Linked DNA regions of Homo sapiens: regions 1 and 3 are each linked to region 2. The links are contacts of gene promoters, found by promoter capture Hi-C in blood cells and fetal thymus (Javierre and others, 2016). All regions are on one chromosome and are shown on one strand. The core of a region is centred on a gene start or on the middle of the fragment in contact, and the rest is flanking DNA. Distances in the headings are between cores, read along the strand shown. Region 1 overlaps ABCC2 (ATP binding cassette subfamily C member 2). Region 2 holds the start of CWF19L1 (CWF19 like cell cycle control factor 1). Region 3 overlaps HIF1AN (hypoxia inducible factor 1 subunit alpha inhibitor).

Region 1 (2,803 bases), core at 238-2,737, 420 kb before region 2:
ATTTCCAGAACTTTGAAATGTTTGGTAATATGCATTTGTGGCTGCCTGTATCTGACCACTAGGTGGCAGCAACACAACAGAAGTCAAGTACAGCAGACGATTCTTTAGCGTTGCTATAGCCCATCACGGTTTGCAAGACTTTTGCAATCAGCATTAGCAGTTTTGCCGCTGAAGCTTGAAGCCATTAAGCTTTATACTCCCCATTTGCTATGGTTAAAAGATAGAGGAGGGAATTTGCTGCAGGTTTCTGCCAGCAAGCGGAACGCTTCGTGCATCAGCAAGAAAGATTTCCCTTCGGCTTCCTCTCTGGATCCTGCCAGATAAGGACTGCCGCGAGGCCTCTCCGTTCCCCGCAGCGGCTCCTCAGGAGAACCTTTCCTCCTCCGCCCACTGCAGCCCAGTTCCTCTGGGGGTAGTTTTGGTCTGTCTGGTGTTTGCTCAGTTCGATAGTCTTTTCTCCAGCCTCTTCAAAAGCGTGACACCTTCTTCTCATGCAGCTGTACTATTCTTTCCTCTACCCTCCTCTGATCCCTCTACCTTGAAATCACGATTATGGGTTTGGGAGGCCGAGGCAGGTGAATCACTGGAGCCCAGGAGTTCAAGATCAGCCTAGGCAACATGGCAAGAACCCATCTCTACAAAAAATTTAAAAAATCAGCCAGGCATCGTGGTGCGTGCCTCTGGTCCCAGCTACTCGGGAGGCTGAGGTGGAAGCATCACTTGAGCTAAGGATGTCAAGGCTGCAGTGAGCGGTGTTTGTGCCACTGCACTCCAGTCTGGGCAACAGAGTGAAAGCCTCAAAAACAAAAAATAAACCGAGGACTTCTAACCCTGTGCCTAGCCCCTGGCTGGTAGCCACTCCGAGCCTTAGGAGGGAAAACCTTGCGGAAGCTCAACCACAAACCAGCTTCCTGCCTCAGGAATCCATCTCAGGCCAGTCCTATCCACCATCTCCCAGTCCTGAGGAACTCCGAGGTCCTTTTCTGGCATGAGCCCCAACAGCCCCCTTGTCCTTTCACTTGCAGGACCCCATCCTGTTCTCTGGAAGCCTGAGGATGAATCTCGACCCTTTCAACAACTACTCAGATGAGGAGATTTGGAAGGCCTTGGAGCTGGCTCACCTCAAGTCTTTTGTGGCCAGCCTGCAACTTGGGTTATCCCACGAAGTGACAGAGGCTGGTGGCAACCTGAGGTAATGTTCCATAGCCTGCTACCCCTGCAGGCAATGAGAGGATGTGAGGGGGCCACTCCTCGTGTTCCTCGTGTTAGGTGATGCCTGGCATAGAATTTTCATCCAGGTCTGATTCCTAAAGTGTAAAATGAACCTGTTGTAAAGTTCACAAGATAAAATAGATGTGAAAGTGCTTTAAAACTCTTGAAAACTGGTCGAGCACAGTGGCTCACGCCTGTGATCCCAGCACTCTGGGAGGCTGAGGCAGGTAGATCACCTGAGGTCAGGAGTTCGTGACCAGCCTGGTCAACATGGTGAAACCCTGTCTCTACTAAAAATACAAAAAGTAGCCTAGCATGGTTGTGGGCACCTGTAGTCCCAAGCTACTCAGGAGGCTGAGGCAGGAGAATCGCTTAAACCCAGGAGGTGGAGGTTGCAGTGAGCCGAGATTGCACCACTGCACTCCAGCCTGGGCAACAGAGCAAGACTCCGTCTAAAAAAAAAAAATCAACTCTTGAAAACCTTTGTTATTGGCCGGGTGCAGTGGCTCACGCCTGTAATCCCAGCACTTTGGGAGGCTGAGGCCGGTGGATCACGAGGTCAGGAGTTCAAGACCAGCCTGGCCAAGATGGTGAAACCCCGTCTCACTAAAAATACAAAAAATTAACTGGGTGTGGTGGCAGGCGCCTGTAATCTCAGCTACTCAGGAGGCTGAGGCAGAGAATTGCTTGAACCCGGGAGGCGGAGGTTGTAGTGAGCTGAGATCACACCACTGCACTCCAGCCTGGGAGACAGAGCAAGACTCCATCTCAAAACAAACAAACAAACAAACAAAAAACCTTTGTTATTAAGTGTACTCCTCATATGACATTACACAATGTGAGCTTACACATCCCACAGAAAGCAGAGGCTCCCAGCTGTGCACAATCAGGATGAAAATAGTCTGGCTGCCTGGTCCAATCCTAGAGTCTGATTTAATTGTTTGAGGCTAGACTGGACATAGGGAGTTTTAAAGGATCCCCACGAGGCTGTTAAGGGCATCGCAGTTAAAGAACCACTGATCTAAAGAGCATGCGGATGACAGGGAACGTGACATCTGTAAAATCCGTAGGCACTGTTGAAACACCTGAAATCAACAAAAGACTCTCTTGGCTTTCACAGTTATTTTTAACCTTTCCAAAACATTTTTATATAATTGACAGTTCACTTCTGGCCTTCAGTGTATGTTTGCCTGTCCATTAATAAGTTGATCTGGCATTTTTCCTGTAACATTTTTGTTTTTCCTTCCACACACTGAAGTTCTGCCCTCAGCCAAAGCCCACTGCTCATGGACAGGTCTTGCTCCTGCCCCAGGGGCCTCAGTGGTGGTAGGCAGGGAATAGGCCGTTGGCAAGTTGAAGCTCAGGAAGGAAGGGAGGGCTCAGTAACTGATTCAGGGGCCAGCCACTCTGGCTTCACCTGGGAGCTTGTTACATGTGCAGAATCTCAGGGCGTAGACCTACTCATCAGAATCCGCACTTTAGCAAGATTCCCAGGTGATTTGTGTGCACATTACACTTGAGAAGCACTGCCTAGAGTGTTGTGATTAACTAGGCTGCAAGCTAAAATCACCCAGGAAGCTTTAAAGCTCCC
Region 2 (2,700 bases), core at 122-2,621:
TGCAGCATCGACCTCCCCAGGCTCAGGTGGTCCACCTGCTTCAGCCTCCCAATTAGCTGGGACCACCACGCCCGGCTAATTTTTTTTTTTTTCTGTATTTTTTGTAGAAACGGGGCCTTGCTATATTGCCCAGGCTGGTCTTGAATTCCTGGACTCAAGTGATTCTCTTGCCTTGGCCTCCGGAGTCGCTGGGATTATAGGCGTGAGCCACTGCGCCTGGCCCTATCACTATGGTAACTTTACATTTATCTGAATTCCTTTTTTTTTAGACGGAGTCTCACTCTGTTACCTAGGCTGGAGTGCAGAGGTGCAGTGTCGGCTCACTGTGCAACCTCCGCCTCCGGGTTCAAGCGATTCTCCTGCCTCAGCCTCCCAAGTAGCTGGGATTACAGGCACGCGCCACCACGCCTGGCTAATTTTTTTTTTTTGTATTAGTAGAGACGGGGTGTCACCACGTTGGCCAGGCTGGTCTCGAACTCCTGACCGCAAGTGATCCGCCCGCCTCAGCCTCCCAAAGTGCTAGGATTACAGGCGTGAGCCACCGCGCCCGGCCATTATTTGTATTGTTTTTTGTTTGTTTTGTTTTGTTTTGTTTTGTTTTGAGAGTCTCGTTCTGTCGCCCAGGCTGGAGTGCAGTGGCGCGATCTCGGCTCACAGCAACCTCCGCCTCCCGGGTTCAAGCGATTCTCCTGCCTCAGCCACCGCGCCCGGCCCATTATCTGGATTCTTTAGTACCTGTTCCTCTAGACTCTACGCTCCATTAAAGCAGGAACTCCATCTGTTGCAACACCTAGCACAGCGTCCGGCACACTGCAGTTCTTCAATAAATACTTGCTGCATGAAGCCCTCTCTTCACCACCACCCCCACCCCTCCTCCTCGCAAAAAAAAAAAAAAAAAAAAAATGCCCCAGGGAAGGGTCCCTATCTACTCTGTCCACCACTGCCCAGGGCCCATCAGTGGGCCCAATGGCTATTTGGCGAGTAAATAAATGGGGTCAGGAGAAACGAAGGGGAAAGGATGTGTCAGAGGCCAGGACTGCCCCCTAAGATGGAGGAGGCCTAACTCTGGGAGCTTCCGCCTCTCCGAACGAGCGTCGCCAAGAGAAACCCCCTCAGAAGCGAAAAGGGCCAGGAAAAGAGGTCAGCCCCGGCCAGGCAAAGACATCACCTAAGCTCCCCAGCAGCCCCGTGTCTCTCCGCCTTTTCCTTCTCCCTTCCCGTCATGGGAAAGACTCCCGCCCGTGTCGTCACCTACACACACGAAAGAGACACAGGGAGAGAGGCTTCCATTCACGGTCACTCACAGGCGCAGCGGTTTCTGTGCCATCTGTCCGAATAGTATGGGTTGCGACTGCCACCTAAAATTGGGAATGCGAATCCGCGCTCCCCGGAAAAATGCGACCGCGCAACAATCAGACGTCAGCGCCCTCCAGCCAATAACGGTTCACTTACTTACGGAGACCGCCGAGGGACAGAAGCCTCTCTCAGGTGTTTGCGCCTCAAGGAAGAATCAAGAGGGAAAGGGAGGAACGAAGGGAGAAAGAGAAAGTGACCGAAAGGATTCCAACTATGATTTTTTAAATTAAATTTCAGAGCACTTGAAGCGAATGAATGGCTAGGAAGTACAGAGCACAATGTCGGGTTCTAACCTAACCTAACCTAACCTAACCTAACCTAACCATATCGGTCTAGTGGGCAAGACAGACCCCCTCTATCCACGTTTTTTGTAAGTTTTTAACCTATCAAAAAGTTAAGAGGCCGGGCGTGGACGCTCACGCCTATAATCCCAGCACTTTGGAAGGCTGAGGCGGGCGGATCACTTGAGGTCGGGCGTTCAAGACCAGCCTGGGCAACATGGTGAAACCCCGTCTCTTCTAAAAATACAAAAATTAGCCGGGCATGGTGGAGAATTGCTTCAACCAGGGAGGCGGGGGTTGCAGTGAGTCAAGATCGCGCCATTGCACTCCAGCCTGGACAACAAGAGCGAAACTCCGTCTCAAATTAAAAAAAAAAAAGTTAAAAGAATAATGGCTATTACCTTGATTCAGTAAGTCTCAGCATGTTGGCAAATTTGCTTGTGTTCTCTTTCTCTCAAAGTGCCCAAGCCCTTCCATTCTCACTCAATCATTTGAAAGTAAAGTACAGGCCGGGCGCAGTGGCTCACGCCTGTAATCCCAGCACTTTGGGAGATCCAGACCATCCTGGCTAACACGGTGAAACCCCCTCTCTACTAAAAATACAAAAAATTAGCCGGGCGTGGTGGCACGCACCTGCAGTCCCAGTTACTCGGGAGGCTGAGGCAGGGGAATCGCTTGAACCCAGGAGGAGGAAGTTGCAGTGAGCCGAGATCGCGCCACTTCACTCCAGCCTGGGCGACAGAGCGAGACTCCGTGTCAAAAAATAAAATAAAATAAAGTGCGGACAACAGGAATACATCTCCATTTATCTCCTAAGATTAGGATATCCTCCTACATAACCGTAATACTATTAACACAGCTAAGAAAATTAACATTAATTATTCAATAATATTACCTAATATACATCCATATTTAAAGTTCTCCATATTTCCCTACAAACTGATTTTATATTTGGGGCTTGTTTTGATTCAGATGCAATCAAGTTTCACACTTGCATTTGGTTCTGTCTCTATTTTAATCTACAAAAGCCCTCCTACCTATTTGGTTTTAGTTTTTGTAATAT
Region 3 (2,700 bases), core at 31-2,530, 270 kb after region 2:
AGGCTGCAACAGGATAGGTGGCTGAATCAGTTAAGATAAACTAGGCTTCAAGCCAGAGCTCGGGCTAGAAACAACAGAGGCTTATTTCTCACTTACTACATGTTGATCATGGGTAATGTCATATTGTTCTTTACATCATCTTACTTGCTCTGGCACCCAGATTGCCCCAGCAGCTACTATCTAGAACTTTGGAGTTGCTGTGGCAGAAGGAAAGAGATGTGGTAGTGGTAACTTGTTCTTAAATTACAGTTGGAAACAACACAAGTCGCTTCTGTGGACATTTCCTTGGCCAGAGCAGCGTAAATAAGCAAGCCTGGCTTCAAGGGGATGTGAAAGAAAACTCGCACACTGAGGGAACCAGCTCTTGGTGAACAGTAATACAATTTACCACAGTGGTCATCAAGGGCCAACGGAGATGTCTCAGGCTCTGCGAGTCTCTGGAGTGAGACTGATTCATCATTCTAGGGTCTGTGGATAGGCTTCTAGGAGTCTGAAATTGTGTGAAAGTTCTGGGTGTATGTGCATTTTTATGGGGAACCTCCGTGGATTCTTTTATTTATTTATTTATGTATTTATATTTTTTGAGATGGTGTCTTGCTCTTGTCACCCAGGCTGGAGTGCAATGGCACGATCTCAGCTCACTGCAACCTCTGCCTCCCAGGTTCAAGTGATTCTCCTGCCTCAGCCTCCTGAGTAGCTGGGACTTCTTCTCCAGGTTCTTTTTTTTTTTTTTAATTTTATTTTTCATCTCACCCTCCTACTCTTTGGATTCTTAAAGGAGTCATTCTGTGACCCAAAAAAGGTTAAGCATCACTTCTTTAAAGAAAAAGTTTGGGGGCCAGATGCAGTGTCTCACACCTGTAATCCCAGCACTTTGGGAGGCAGAAGCAGGAGGATTGCTTGAGCCCAAGAGTTTAAGACCAACCTGGACAACATATTGAGACCTTGTTTCTTTAAACAAAACAAAGAAAAACCAGTAAATTAAAAAATTTGGTGTTGAACATAACTCAATGAAGGATAAGTAAGAATTCAGTTGTATGAGAATCCATGTTGGCTAAAATTTGCCTGACTACATCTGTTCTCTGTGGGAGATGCTGGTATGGATTTGGGCTTGGATTTTCAGATGTGGAGAGGCCATGCCAGGGGCTGTGTGTGCATGCACTAATAGGATTTTCTTCTTGGGGAACATAGGTTGTATCTGCAGCAAACGCTCAATGACACTGTGGGCAGGAAGATTGTCATGGACTTCTTAGGTTTTAACTGGAACTGGATTAATAAGCAACAGGGAAAGCGTGGCTGGGGGCAGCTTACCTCTAACCTGCTGCTCATTGGCATGGAAGGTAAGAAATCTTTCAAAAGCAGCATGGCTTGGAGTCATATGAACCTGATTTCTAATCCTGTCTTCACCGCTTATTAGCTCCATGACTTTGAACAAGCCACTTCACTTTCTTAAGCCTCAGCCTACTCAGCTCTAAAAGAAACATAATAGGGGCTGGATGCCGTGGCTCACGCCTGTAATCCCAGCAGTTTGGGAGGCCAAGGTGGGTGGATGATGAGGTCAGGAGATGGAGACCATCCCGGCCAACATCATGAAACCCCGTCTCTACTAAAATACAAAGAAAACAAATCAGCTGGGCATGGTGGTGCGTGCCTGTAGTCCCAGCTACTCGGGAGGCTGAGAGAGGGGAATTGCTTGAACCCAGGCGGTGGAGGTTGCAGTGAGCCAAGATCACGCCACTGCACTCCAGCCTGGCGACAGAGCAAGACTCTGTCTCAAAAGAAAGAAAAAGAAACATAATAGGGCCAGGCATGGTAGCTCATATTTGTAATCCCAGCACTTTGGGAGGCCAAGGCAGGAGGATTGCTTGAAGCCAGAAGTTTGAGGCTACAGTGAACTATGATTGCACCACTGCACTGCAGCCTGGGCAACAGAGTGAGATCCTATTGCTTAAAAAAGGAAAAATGAAAAGAAATGAAACATGATAATGTCTTGTAAATAGTTGTGAAGTTGTGAAGATTAAATGAAATAATGTATGTCGAGTCTGTTTTTTTTTGTTGTTGTTGTTTTGTTTTTTTGAGACAGAGTCTCACTCTGTTGCCTAGGCTGGAGTGCAGTTGTGTGGTCTCGGCTCACTGCAACCTCCGCCTCCCGTGTTCAAGTGATTCTCCTGCTTTAGCTCCCAAGTAGCTGACACTACAGGCGTGTGCCACCATACCCGGCTTATGTCGAGTCTTTAAGCTAGTTTCGTGTATTCTAAAAAGTTCCCTTTTCCCTTCCTCAGCTGTTATGTGAGTGTGTATACTGAGATATTAGGGACCTCTCTGAAATACAGACATGTGATGCTTAATGTCAGGGATACGTTCTGAGAAATGTGTTGTTAGGTGACTTCATCATTGTGCAAACACCATAGAGTATAGTTACACAAACCTAGATTGTGTAGCCTTCTATATGCCTAGGCTATATGGTGTAGCCTCTGACTAAACCATGTACTACATGGTGTTAGCATATTACTGTGCTGAATATTATAGTCAATTCTAACACAATGGTAAGTATTTGTGTATCTAAACATACCTAAATATAGAAAAGGTATAGTAAAAGTACGGTATCAGATACTGCAGGAAAAAGGTGACAAAAGAAAAAAGTATATAAAGGTTAAAAAATGGTAGTTTGGGAATTTTTTTATTGCCAAAAAAAAAAAA

The links. The method cuts DNA at HindIII sites, captures the fragments that hold promoters and counts their contacts. A CHiCAGO score of 5 or more calls a contact.
Region 1: a contact is called between a fragment that was not itself captured here and the fragment with the promoter of CWF19L1 in region 2, in 1 of 17 cell types (fetal thymus). The highest score is 5.2, in fetal thymus.
Region 3: a contact is called between a fragment that was not itself captured here and the fragment with the promoter of CWF19L1 in region 2, in 5 of 17 cell types (naive CD8 T cells, total CD8 T cells, naive CD4 T cells and 2 more). The highest score is 8.8, in naive CD8 T cells.

Annotation. Positions count from the first base shown.
Region 1 is chr10:99,845,936-99,848,738 of GRCh38, forward strand. ABCC2 (ATP binding cassette subfamily C member 2) reads left to right here. Exons shown (of 32, transcript NM_000392.5): 30 at 1,026-1,192. Among named protein-coding and RNA genes, the nearest start is that of ABCC2, 65 kb to the left of the region's middle. The HindIII fragment of the contact is 2,601 bases long and covers 188-2,788 here.
Region 2 is chr10:100,266,267-100,268,966 of GRCh38, forward strand. It overlaps CWF19L1 (CWF19 like cell cycle control factor 1), which reads right to left and starts at 1,372. Exons shown (of 14, transcript NM_018294.6): 1 at 1,305-1,372. The coding sequence starts at 1,327. The HindIII fragment of the contact is 22,053 bases long and covers 1-2,700 here.
Region 3 is chr10:100,539,443-100,542,142 of GRCh38, forward strand. It overlaps HIF1AN (hypoxia inducible factor 1 subunit alpha inhibitor), which reads left to right. Exons shown (of 8, transcript NM_017902.3): 3 at 1,192-1,340. Among named protein-coding and RNA genes, the nearest start is that of HIF1AN, 4.8 kb to the left of the region's middle. The HindIII fragment of the contact is 8,099 bases long and covers 1-2,700 here.